Regions from separate parts of the Homo sapiens genome. Here region 1 is linked to region 2. The links are contacts of gene promoters, found by promoter capture Hi-C in human tissues and cell types (Jung and others, 2019). All regions are on one chromosome and are shown on one strand. Each heading gives the region's core, a stretch centred on a gene start or on the middle of the fragment in contact. The rest is flanking DNA. Distances are from core to core; before and after follow the strand shown. Region 1 holds the start of CAPN7 (calpain 7). Region 2 holds the start of MRPS25 (mitochondrial ribosomal protein S25).

Region 1 (6,440 bases), core at 3,941-6,440, 140 kb before region 2:
TTTATGAATTCACGCATAAGGAACTGATTATAAACACTTCTTTAGAATAGCTGCAGTTTACATGTTTCGTTTTCCTTTTTCCTTATGCAATAGATCAGATTTAAAATTATATACCTTGAAAATGTGAACTGATTGCAAGTAATTCACACGCAAAAAAATATGAATTGAGCCTTCAAAGCATTAAAACGAGTAATAATTGCTAAAATAAAATTATCAAGAAAAGATTACAGGAGATTACACAGGTTAAATATCTCACAGTAAAAGGAAAACAGTTTTCTCCACAGAAAATACTGACAAAGGATGACACATTTTAAAGCAGATTTTAGTTGTATAAATTACACTTATTTTAATTTTAAGAAAATCTGGATTCTTCTTCCAGTTATTCCATAACTTCCACGACCAGTTATGCTATGGCTAGAAGGTGGTGTTTCCATTCTCCTCATCACCATTCCAGGAAGGTTACCAATGCTACCACCTAGAAAAGCAAAGACAGATTTCTACAAGTAACAGCACCTTCTCTGCAGTAACCCAAGCGTGTACACTTCATGGGTCATCATGCCTGTTTCCAAAGATGCCATCTACTGAACATCACTTTTTGAATCCAGTTGTTTGAGCAGGAGTTGTTTCACTGAACCTAACAAAATTAAGAAAAGTGCAGTTTTCAGCCTGGGCAACATGGTGAAACCCTGTCTCTACAAAGTAGTCCCAGCTACTCAGGAGGCTGAGGCGGGAGGATCACCTGAGCCCTGGGAGGTGGAGGCTGCAGTGAGCTGTGATCGGGCCACTGCACTCCAGCCTGGGTGACAGAGTAAGATACTGTCCAAAAAAAAAAAAAAAAAGGAAGGAAGCAAGGAAGGAATGAAAAAGTACAGTTTTGACTACAATGAAAATTCAGCCTAAAGGCAGTGGGATAGAAAAGATATGACTTCCTTAGATTCTATAACTATTTCAGAGGAGGAAAGTATAACTTTACATGTAAACATTAAATATATCTTACATACCATCATTATCTAAATACATTGTAACTACACTTAAATCCAATAAACGGAATGTTTTTGATACATGTAAATTATATAAGTATATAATACACATATATTGCCCCTTCAGTTATCTTGTATGTGATTATTAATTTCCAAATAATTATTGTACTTTTTAAAAAAAGCTATTTTTTTTACTTAGGAGTCTGAGGCAGGAGGACTGCTTGAGGCCAGGAGTTCAAGACTAACTGGGCAACATAGTGAAATCCCCATTTCTGGAAAAAAAAAAAATTAGCCAGGTATTGTGGTGCACACCTGTAGTCCCAGCTACTCAGGAGGCTGAGGCTGGAAGATTGTTTTAGCCCAGGAGTTTGAGGCTGCAGTGAGTTATGATCTCACCACTGCCCGCCAGCCTGGGTGACAGAATGAGACCCTGTCTCTGAAAAATAAAATAAAGCCAATTTAAAAAACTGCTGGTGTCAATTTTATTTTACTCATTTCATTTATATTCAAAACTGACAAGAAATAAATAGCTTATAGAAAGGACTGGGCAGAAAACACTAAATACTAAACTGATGAAGCTTATATAAATAATTTCTAGAAGTACAACCACTTTTTTTGGCTTTCTCAAAGATAAAAAATTCTTCCTGACATGTATGTAAGTCTATAGGAAACAAGGGGCAGTGCATAGCAGTTTCTTTTGCTTTAATAAAATCTATTTTTATATAGCACTATTTTAACCTGTTGTCAAAGCTATTTCACAAAACACACACAATTTTTCTCTTAAACAATGCCTTGTGAAATTGTCAAAAAAGTCTAAAAGGATTCTGAAATGCACCAAAACTCTCTAAACATAAAGCAGATTATAATAGAATGAGACCTACTGTTAAGATAGATCACAGGGTGACCAGAGTTTATAATATTTGATTGTACATTTCAAAATAGCTAGATTAATTCAAATGTTCCTAGCATAAATATTAAGGGAATAATATTCAGTAATAAAAGCTGCACAGTTCAGCTGTGAAGTAGTTAAGGTGATGGCTATCCCAAGTATGCTGATTTATCTTTACAAATTATATTAATGTATTAAATTATCACATGTACCCTGAAACTATGTACATTACCTATCAATAAAAAAAGAAAAAAATAGGCTGGGGGCGGTGGCTCATGCCTATAATCCCAGCACTTTGGGAAGCCGAGGCAGGTGGATCACCTGAGGTCGGGAGTTTGAGACCAGCCTGACCAACATGGAGAAACCCGGTCTCTACTAAAAATACAAAATTAGCCGGGGGTGGTGGTGCATGCCTGTAATCCCAGCTACTCAGGAGGCTGAGGCAGGAGAATCACTTGAACCCACGAGGTGGAGGTTGCAGCGAGTCGAGATTGTGCTATTGCACTCCAGCCTGAGCAACAAGAACAAAACTCCGTCTCAAAAAAAAAGGAAAAAAGATTATAAAATGAAAGCAACAAAATATTAATCTGAAACAAACCACACTTTATTGACAGCACATACATTTGTGAAAAAAAGTACTACTATTGTACAGTATTATCAAAGTCTGATAATCTTTCTAAAAGAAAAGGTGACACTATCATGAGGACACAGCTCCCTCCAAATCTAGCTAGAGCTAGAGGGGTATATTTGCAAATCCTCAGAATTGGAGAGAAGAGAGTGGACCATGGAAGCTCATACCCTTTGATTTATCAATTCTGTCCCCGGTAATTTATCCCAAAGAAAATTCAGGCAAAAATTTGCACTAGTCATAAGAATTAGTTATAAAGATATGAACTACATCGTTACTTATGATGTTGAAAAAACAAAATCAACTGAATGCCCAAGAGTCTGTAAATTAATTATAGTACACTGGACAGGCACAGAGGCTCACGCCTGTAATTCCAGCATTTTGGGAGACTGAGGCAGGAAGATCGCTTGACCCAGGAGTTCGAAACCAGCCTGGGCAACACAGCGAGACTCCATTTCTACACAAAAAAAAAAAAAAAAAAAAAATTAGCCAAGTGTGGTTGTGTCTACCTGTAGTCCCACCAATTGGGAGACTGAGGCAGGAGGATTGCTTGAGCTTTGCAGTTTGAGGCTGCAATGAGCTATTATTAGTGGGCCACGGCACTCCAGGCTGAGTGACAGGGCAAGACGCTGTCTCTTAAAAAAAAAAATATGGTACACCCACATAATGAACTACTGTGCAGCTATTACTAAAAACAGTATAAACCAGTTTGTAAAAAAAAAAAAAAAGCATATACACATACGCATAAAAAAACACAAAAATATAGTCACACACCACATAACATTTCAGTCAACAACAGACTGAATATATGATAGTGGTCCCCTAAGATTATAATGGAGTTGAAAAATTCCTATTGCCTGGTCATGTCATAGCCATCATAATGTCATAGCACAACACTTTACTCGCATGTTTGTGGTGATGCTGATGTAAACAAACCTACTGGGGTGCCAGTGGTGTAAAAGTCTACCACACACAATAATGTAGAGTACATAATACTTGATAATCAACAACTATGTTACTGGTTTATGTATTTACTATGCTATACTATGTACTGTTAGTATACTCCTTTTATAAAAAAAAGTTAACTATAAAACAGTCTCTGACATGTCCTTCAGGAGATATTTCAAGAGACATTGTTATCATAGGAGACGACAGTTTCATTCCTGTTATTGCTCCTGAAGACCTCCCAGTGGGACAAGATTGGAGGTGGAAGACAGTAATATTGATGATCCTGACGAGGTGTAGGCCTAGGCTAACGTGTGCCTTAGTTTTTAACTAAAGAATAAAAAAAAAAAAAGAAACAAAAAAACTTACCAAATAAAGATATAAAGAAAATGTTTGTGTAACTGCACAATAAGTTCGTTTTAAGCTATTACAAAAGAGTTAAAAAGTTAAGAAAATTTAGAAGTTTATAAAGTAAAAGGGTTACCGTAAGCTAAGGTTAGTTTATTACTGAAGAAAGATTAAAAAAATTTAGCGTAGCCTAAGGGTACACTGCTTATAAAGTCTACAAGAGTAGAGCAGTGAATGTCCCAGGCCTTCACATTCACTCACCACTACTCACCAACTCAGAGCAACTTCCAGTCCTGCAAGCTCCTTTTGTGGGTAAGTGCCCCACACTGGTGTAGTATTTTTTTTTTATCTTTTATGCTGCATGTTTACTGTACCTTTTCTATGTTTAGATGCACAAATACTTACCACTGCATGTAACTGCACACACCACTGAGTACAGCAACACGCTGCGCAGGCCTGTAACCTAGGAGCAACAGGCCATGCCATACAGCTTAGGTGTGGAACAGGCTGTACCATTCAGGCTTGTGTAAGCGCTTTCTACGGTGTTCGCACAACAACAAAATGGCCTAAGAACACATTTCTCAGAAAATATCACATCGCTAAGGACGCATGACTGTATGTCAAATGCTATGACAGGAGATGGTTTTTATTCTTTTTAAGTTTATTTAACGAGCATGCATTATTTTGATATATATCACAGGCCATTTCCCGCTAGCTGTAAATCAGAGTCAAGTGACAGCAAGAATTGGCTACTAACTACCCATATCTAACACCTGCCCCCCAAAGCGGCTCAACGGTGGGCATTTGCCAGTCAGGACTACAGGTGGAGGAGCGGCGGCTGCAAGCCGCGACCCAGCCTCCCCGCAGCCTCAGCGTCGGCCTCTGCACTCGGGCTTGCCGCTCCCAACAAGAGGAGGGCCGGGAGGCGGACGAGGGAAAAGCAAAGCCGGGGCCGCTAGCCTCCGCACCCGGATCCCGCCCCTCGGCCGCAGGCCCGGGCCGCACTCCGACTGAGCAACTCCGACCGAAGCGCCGGGCCCGGCCCTACCTTGTAATAAAACACCGCCTCGGAGTAGCGGCCTTCGTGGTCGCGCTGAACCGCCAGACGGGCGAACTGCACAGCGTCCCGCTCCAGTGCTGTGGCGTCCATGGCGCAGTGGCCCCGCGCCGGGGCAGGGAAGGAGGCCCTGACGCAGGACGGCTCTTCGCGGACTGCGGCGGCCCGGCGGCGGCGAGGACTCGGGAGCGCCGCGGAAGGAGCGGCAAAGTTTACTTTGGACGGTGGAGGAGAGCTCGCCTTCCCGTTGCCGGGCTGGGGTCCACCGCGAAGCCGCGCCCCTCAGCCCAGACCCGGCTTGTAGCCCACCCGGCCGCCCCACTTCGCGGCCCCAGCGGCCCTCGCCCCGCCCACCAGCCGCCCGACGCAGGCGCAGCCTGGCCCTCACGAGCTCCTTAGAAGCTGGGGCCGCCGAGGCCAGGCTCGCGGGACTGCGCGGGCTGTGGGCGGGGCCGGGCCCACGCAGGAGCCGGGCCGCGGGGGCGGGGCAAAAAGGCCTGCCGCTGTGCACGTGACCGTCGCGGCGCCCGGGATTGAGCAGCTGAGGGCAGGTGCCACGTCCGAGCTGCCCACACACCGCCTTATGCGTGGCGGTGGCGGTGCAGGGCGAGGCTGTTTTCGTCGACAGTGGGCAGTAGAGGGGTACGCGCCTTACAGATCCTTTCCTCTGTTAAGTGTAAGGGATGGGAGTAAAGAGCTAAGGAAGAATGCCTCCCACCAGCATCTGACACATTAAAAAAATTACCGTGAGGACAGAGGTTCTTTAGAGTCACTCTTCGCTAACATTTATTTTCATTTGTTTTCCACAAGCTGAATCATGACCCTATAGCCCCCCACTGTACACCAAGGTCGTATTGATTGAATTGTTAACAAACAAGGTAATGTATTTCCACTTGTACTTACCCTTAGGTTAACTTGATGCTGTTGTAATTAAATACTTAATTAGGTGATTATTTGATTTATGTCTTCTCTCCCCTAAAGGTCTGAAGTCAGCAGTAATAAAAATGAATTAGTGATGGGCACCACCAAATTCATGCTGAGTCAAAGAAGTAAGAATTGAGTACATAATGTATAATTCCATCTATAAGAAACACTAGAAAACACTACGATGTTAGAAAGCAGATCAGTGGTTGGGAAGGGGATACAAAGGAATCTTTTCGGATGATGAGAATGTTTTATATCTCAATGGTGGTGTAAAAATATATACGTTTGTCAAAACTTATCAAACTACATTTTAAGTGTGTACTTTTAATTTTTTAATTATACTCTAAATTTTTTTTCAGTCATTTGGCCTGCATTTAAAATGGGACTCTAATTTCTTAGTTTAAGTGTATTTCTTCACATTTAGTGAAGTTCTTAATAACAACGGTCTCATCAGGCTGTTATAAAGACACACAGAATTTGATTTTGTGCCTGGCCCAAAGATGGCTCTCAAAGGTAGCAACTACAGTTTTATAGCTGAAGCAGGGATGCTTCCTGTCTTTACCACTTTGATCCCAGCGTTGAGCGCAAGCCTTGTTCCAGAGCAGGTGTTCAACAAATATTTTAAAATGTTGAATGAGTCAACTCCACTACTTAAATATATCTAATGTG
Region 2 (6,081 bases), core at 781-3,280:
ATGGTGAAACCCTGTCTCTACTAAAAATACAAAAACTAGCTGGGTGTGGTGGTGGGCACCTGTAATCTCAGCCACTTGGGAGGCTGAGGCAGGAGAATCATTTGAACCTGGGAGGCAGAGGTTGCAGTGAGCCAAGATAGTGCCATTGCACTCCAGCCTGGGTGACAGAGCGAGACTTCGTCTCAAAAAAAAAAAAAAAAAAAATTAGCCAGGCATGGTGGTGTGCACCTGTAGTCCCAGCTAAGTGGCAGAGGTGGGAGAATTGCTTGAGCCCAGGAGGTAGAGGTTGCAGTGAGCAGAGATTGCACCAGTGCACTCCAGGCTGGGTGACAGAGACTTTGTCTCAAAACAAACAAACAAACACCCTAAGAATCAAAAGGAAGTGCTAGAAGTTAAAACCTTAAATGAAAAATGCCTTAATGGGCTTATCAGTAGACTGTCCATAACCAAAGATTAAATGAATTTGAAGATAGGTCAACAGAAACTTCCCCACTAAAATGCAAAGAGAACCTCCATCACCCCGCCAGAACATTCGAGAACTATGAGGCAATTCCAGAAGACATAAAATGCATTTAACTTGAATACTAGAAAGAGAAAAGAGTGAAGAATAAATACCTGAACTAATAAATGGCTAAGAACTTTACAAAATTAATGACAGACATGAAATCACAGATCCAGGAGGCTCAGAGGACTCCAAGCAGGACAAATACAAAACATCTACAGATCTGCATTACCTTATTCTAACCCCGTAAACCAAACACCAAGAGAAAATTTGAAAGAAGCTAAAGGAAAAAGCCATCATACCTATAAATGTAATTGCATTTAATTACTTGTTTGAAACCATGCAAGCAAAAAAAGAGTGGAGTGAACTATTTAAATTGTTGAAAGAAAAACACCAGGGCCAGGCGCAGTGGCTCACGCCTGTAATCCCAGCACTTTGGGAAGCTGAGACGGGCGGATCATCTGAGGTCAGGAGTTTGATACCAGCCTGACCAACATGGAGAATCCCCGTCTCTACTGACAATACAAAATTAGCTGGGTGTAGTGGCGCATGCCTGTAAGTCCGGCTACTCGGGAGGCTGAGGCAGGAGAATCACTTGAACCTGGGAGGCGGAGGTTGCGGTGAGCCAAGATAGCACCATTGCACTCCAGAAGGGAGGGAGGGAAAGGAAAAACACTAACCTAGAATTCTAAATCTGGCAAAATCACTCTTCAAAAGAGAAGGAGAAATACCTTTCAGATCAAGAGTACTTCAGAAATGTATCTTTTTTTTTTTTGAGAGGGAGTCTTGCTCTGTCGCCCAGGCTGGAGTGCAGTGGCGCGATCTCGGCTCACTGCAACTTCCCGGGTTCGAGCGATCCTCCCACCTCAGTCTTCTGAGTAGCTGGGACCACAGGTGCTGCCACCACACCAGGCTAATTTTTGTATTTTCAGTAGAGACGGGGTTTCGCCATGTTGGGCAGGCTGGTCTCGAATTCCTGACCTCAAGCGATCCTTCCGCCTCGGCTTCCCCAAAGGCTGGGTTTACAGGCGGGAGCCACCGCGCCTGGCCCTAGAAATACATCTCACCCATAGTTTGTTTACGAAAAAATTGAGGTCCTGAGTTAAGTGGCTGAATTTAGGAAGGAATTGATCCCAAACCATCTTTTTTTCTTTTGCTAAGAAGTTTAAGTCAACGTCAGAAAGTGCAGTTTGAACTCTTCATGATAAAACTGGAGATGTTTGGGGAGAAAAATGGACAATACGTTCAATAGGACGTTATCAGCTGACTTGGTATCCAAACTGAGCTTTCCTGATTATTTCTTATTGCAATGTCTGACTTTTAGCCTATGTAAAAATATTTTCCCGTGGGTGGATGGGGAAATGACTAATTTACAGGACGCGACAACCTAAACCTTCCAAGGGGAAGGCGTCCTAAAGCGAAGCTGCACACACCGGTTCTCGCCGCGCCGGGTCGAAGGCCGCCTACAAGTCCCAGAGTGCTCCGCGGCGTGCGCTGCCCGCCGGGAAGCGTCTCCTGTGCGTCTGCGCGGGAAGTGGAACCTGGCTCTGGGGAGAAGCCGCGTGAGATCCGCGCGGGTGCTAGCTAGTCCTTTCTCGTCGCTGCTCGGCTCGCGGCCCGTGGGGTCGGCCCCGCCACCGTTGCCGCCATGCCCATGAAGGGCCGCTTCCCCATCCGCCGCACCCTGCAATATCTGAGCCAGGGGAACGTGGTGTTCAAGGACTCCGTGAAGGTCATGACAGTGAATTACAACACGCATGGGGAGCTGGGCGAGGGCGCCAGGTCAGTCGCAGCCCCGGCCGCCTGGCGAGCCGTAACCTGCTAGTCGTGCCAGCCTGCTGGTAACGTGAGGTCCCGAGTCGCTCTGGGCGGCCGTTCATCCCCGGGGCGGGCCCCCCAGGTCGGCGCTGTTACCCCCATTTTACAGAGGTCCAGACTGAGGCGGACGGCGGGGCCCCCGCCGGGCCGGCTGCAGTCGTGACGAGGTTTGGGGGGCGGAGGACAAGAACCCCACTCCTGGATCTCCTTCCTCCGGCGCGGTGGGCGAGGCTGACCCGAGGGAGGCCACCAGTTCCCTTGGCCCCTCTGGCCAGCAAGGCAAGCGCTGGGGAGGGGCAGCCGCAGATCCTTTCGGGGTGACGGGGGTGACACCCCAGGACGAATCTGAGGATAAAATGAGAGAAATAACAGCGGCGAACACTGATCATATCTCGCACAGTTCTGAATGCTTCTCGCGCTTTCTTTTTTCTGATGCCTAGAGAAACCCCAGCTTATCCCCACTCTAAGGCTGGGGAAGCGCACAGAGAGGTTAAGTAACTTGCAGCTCCACGAGACACCATGCCAGCCGGTGAGCGGTGAGCCGGGCAGTGTGGCCGCTTCCTTCGGGACTCAAGGTTTGGAAGGAAGTGATTAATTATGTCAGCTGTGCAGCGGCAGACCCTACCCCGACTAGAAGGAACTGTAGGGAACGCCTAGGATGTCTTTCAGCTTGGAGCAGAGTAGGGACTCATTGAATGGCAGTTGGCAAGTGAAAGGTTTGGATTGACCCTGAGGCAGCCCTAAGCAGTGCCTTAGGCTCTGCAGGTATGAAGTCTACATTTATTGAGTACACTCTGAGTGCTAGGCTGTGTGCTGTGTGCTGGGAGTTCAGCAGTGATGGAGGAGGCAGCCTTAGCCCGCAGAAACTTTGGGACTTGGGTGTATGTTGGATCAAAATGAGGCGTGGGGGCGGGGAGCAACTTCTTGTGGGGCATGGTCCCCTTGGTGACGGACCTTCACTGCATGGCCCTTCAAGAGATCCGGAAGCCGCTTCCTAGCCATTTGCTCTGCGCAGGTGAATCTGATAACTTGGACCTGCTTGCCTGGAATCAGCTGGCTTGATGGCTTCCTGGAAGACTTGGTCTTGGTCTTAGGGTGTATGGGCACCCAGATACTCCTTCATAACCTACTGCACAACTGTGCACACCTTTGTCCCCGGGCAACTGCCAGGCAGATAATGGGAAGGGGTGGGGGTCTCGGTGCGGCCCGCAGCGAGCTGGAGAGCACATGCCCTATCCAGAGGGCCCTTCACTGTTTGGCATTGTGGGCTCCGTGGAGAATTTCTCATTTGTCAAGAAGCTGAAATCTAGGTTTTTATGTAAATCTCTGGCTTTTAAATGGCCAGCCAATCAAAATAAGCCTGTGAGCCTCTTACTTACATTCTCAGATATTTTAATGTCCTCTAGGTAAATGGGATACAAACAGCCATTCACTGTTTCTTTGTTCCTGGTGGTAGGGGCTGGCCTGTGCCACCTGTGCCCTCTGTGATCTTGTACCCGTGGGTTGGAGTCTGTCTGCCTTGCTCTGGCTAGCCGCAGTCCTCCCCCAATCCCCAGCCCTTGTTTGTTCATGTGCCCTCAGCCCTTCAGCTGCCCCACTGGGACCTACCTCCATCCCAAGTGCCTGCGACCGGTCCAGCCAGTCTTTGGGTACCTGCTGGGGGCAATGGGAAGGTGCCTTATTTAGTATTTGAGGGCCAAGTCCTTACTCACCTCTGCCAGGTGTTCTACCCTGAACAAGTGGTCCCCAAGCCTCAGGGTGAATTTGATGGTGACAGAACAGTGTGATCGAAGGCCAGACTAATCAGCCCAGTTAGACCTGGGGCAGTTTACTTAACTTCTGACCTTAGTTTCCTTAAATTGTAAAACCCCACCTTCTGGGGTTGGAGAGTCAGGTGCCTAGCAAAGTGTCTGGCATATACAGCAGTTGCTCAACTCAAGGTTCCTGCCATTATTAACTTTCTTTTTTTTTTTTTTTCAATTGATCATTCTTGGGTGTTTCTCGCAGAGGGGGATTTGGCAGGGTCATAGGACAATAGTGGAGGGAAGGTCAGCAGATAAACAAGTGAACAAAGGTCTCTGGTTTTCCTAGGCAGAGTGTTTGTGTCCCTGGGTACTTGAGATTAGGGAGTGGTGATGACTCTTAACGAGCATGCTGCTTTCAAGCATCTGTTTAACAAAGCACATCTTGTACCGCCCTTAATCCATTTAACCCTGAGTGGACACAGCACATGTTTCAGAGAGCACAGGGTTGGGGGTAAGGTCACAGATCAACAGGATCCCAAGGCAGAAGAATTTTTCTTAGTACAGAACAAAATGAAAAGTCTCCCATGTCTACCTCTTTCCACACAGACACGGCAACCATCCGATTTCTCAATCTTTTCCCCACCTTTCCCCCCTTTCTATTCCACAAAACTGCCATTGTCATCATGGCCCGTTCTCAATGAGCTGTTGGGCACACCTCCCAGATGGGGTGGTGGCCGGGCAGAGGGGCTCCTCACTTCCCAGTAGGGGCGGCCGGGCAGAGGCGCCCCTCACCTCCTGGACGGGGCGGCTGGCCGGGCAGGGGGCTGACCCCCCCCACCTCCCTCCCGGATGGGGCGGCTGGCCGGGCGGGGGGCTGACCCCCCACCTCCCTCCCGGACGGGGCGGCCTGGCCGGGCAGAGGGGCTCCTCACTTCCCAGTAGGGGCGGCCCGGGCAGAGGCGCCCCCTCACCTCCTGGACGGGGCGGCTGGCCGGGCGGGGGGCTGACCCCCTGACCTCCCCTCCCGGACCGGGCGGCTGGCCCGGGCCAGAGGGGCTCCTCACTTCGCATTAGGGGCGGCAGGCAGAGGTGCCCCTCACCTCCCAGTACGGGGCGGCTGGCCGGGCGGGGGGCTGACCCGCCGCACTCCCTCCCGGATGGGGCGGCTGGCCGGGCGGCTGAGCCCCCTACCTCCCTCCCAGACGGGGCGGCTGGCCTGGCGGGGGCTGACCCCCAACTCCCTCCCGGACGGGGCGGCTGCCGGGCGGAGACGCTCCTCACTTCCCAGACGGGGCGGCTGCCGGGCGGAGGGGCTCCTCACTTCTCAGACGGGGCGGCTGCCGGGCGGAGGGGCTCCTCACTTCTCAGACAGGGCGGCTGCCGGGCGGAGGGTCTCCTCCCTTCTCAGACGGGGTGGCTGGGCAGAGATGCTCCTCACCTCCCAGACGGGGTCGCGGCCGGGCAGAGGCGCTCCTCACATCCCAGATGGGGCGGCGGGGCAAAGGCGCTCCCCACATCTCAGACGATGGGCGGCCGGGCAGAGACGCTCCTCACTTTCCAGGCTGGGCAGCCAGGCAGAGGGGCTCCTCACATCCCAGATGATGGGCGGCCAGGCAGAGACGCTCCTCACTTCCCAGACGGGGTGGTGGCCGGGCAGAGGCTGCACTCTGGACACTTTGGGAGGCCAAGGCAGGCGGCTGGGAGGTGGAGGCTATAGCGAGCCGAGATCATGCCACTGCACTCCAGCCTGGGCACCATTGAGCACTGAGTGAACCAGACACCGTCTGCAATCCCGGCACCTCTGGAGGCCGAGGCTGGCGGATCACTCGCGGTTAGGAGCTGGAGACCAGCCCGGCCAACACAGCGAAACCCCGTCTCCACCAAAAAAATACGAAAACCAGTCAGGCGTGGCAGCGCGCGCCTGCAATCGCAGGCGCTGGGCAGGCTGAGGCAGGAGAATCAGGCAGGGAGGTTGCAGTGAGCCGAGATGGCAGCAGTACAGTCCAGCTTCGGCTC

Evidence for each region. Contacts are between HindIII fragments. The study calls those that stand out against the background at their distance.
Region 1: a contact is called between the fragment with the promoter of CAPN7 here and the fragment with the promoter of MRPS25 in region 2, in 1 of the 25 tissues and cell types used here (thymus).

Annotation. Positions count from the first base shown.
Region 1 is chr3:15,204,996-15,211,435 of GRCh38, reverse strand. CAPN7 (calpain 7) reads right to left here and starts at 5,190. Exons shown (of 21, transcript NM_014296.3): 1 at 4,839-5,190. The coding sequence starts at 4,940. It also overlaps the pseudogene COL6A4P1. RefSeq lists a silencer at 4,965-5,484. The HindIII fragment of the contact is 9,772 bases long and covers 1-6,440 here.
Region 2 is chr3:15,061,264-15,067,344 of GRCh38, reverse strand. MRPS25 (mitochondrial ribosomal protein S25) reads left to right here and starts at 2,030. Exons shown (of 4, transcript NM_022497.5): 1 at 2,030-2,284. The coding sequence starts at 2,151. RefSeq lists an enhancer at 1,871-2,050. The HindIII fragment of the contact is 13,424 bases long and covers 1-6,081 here.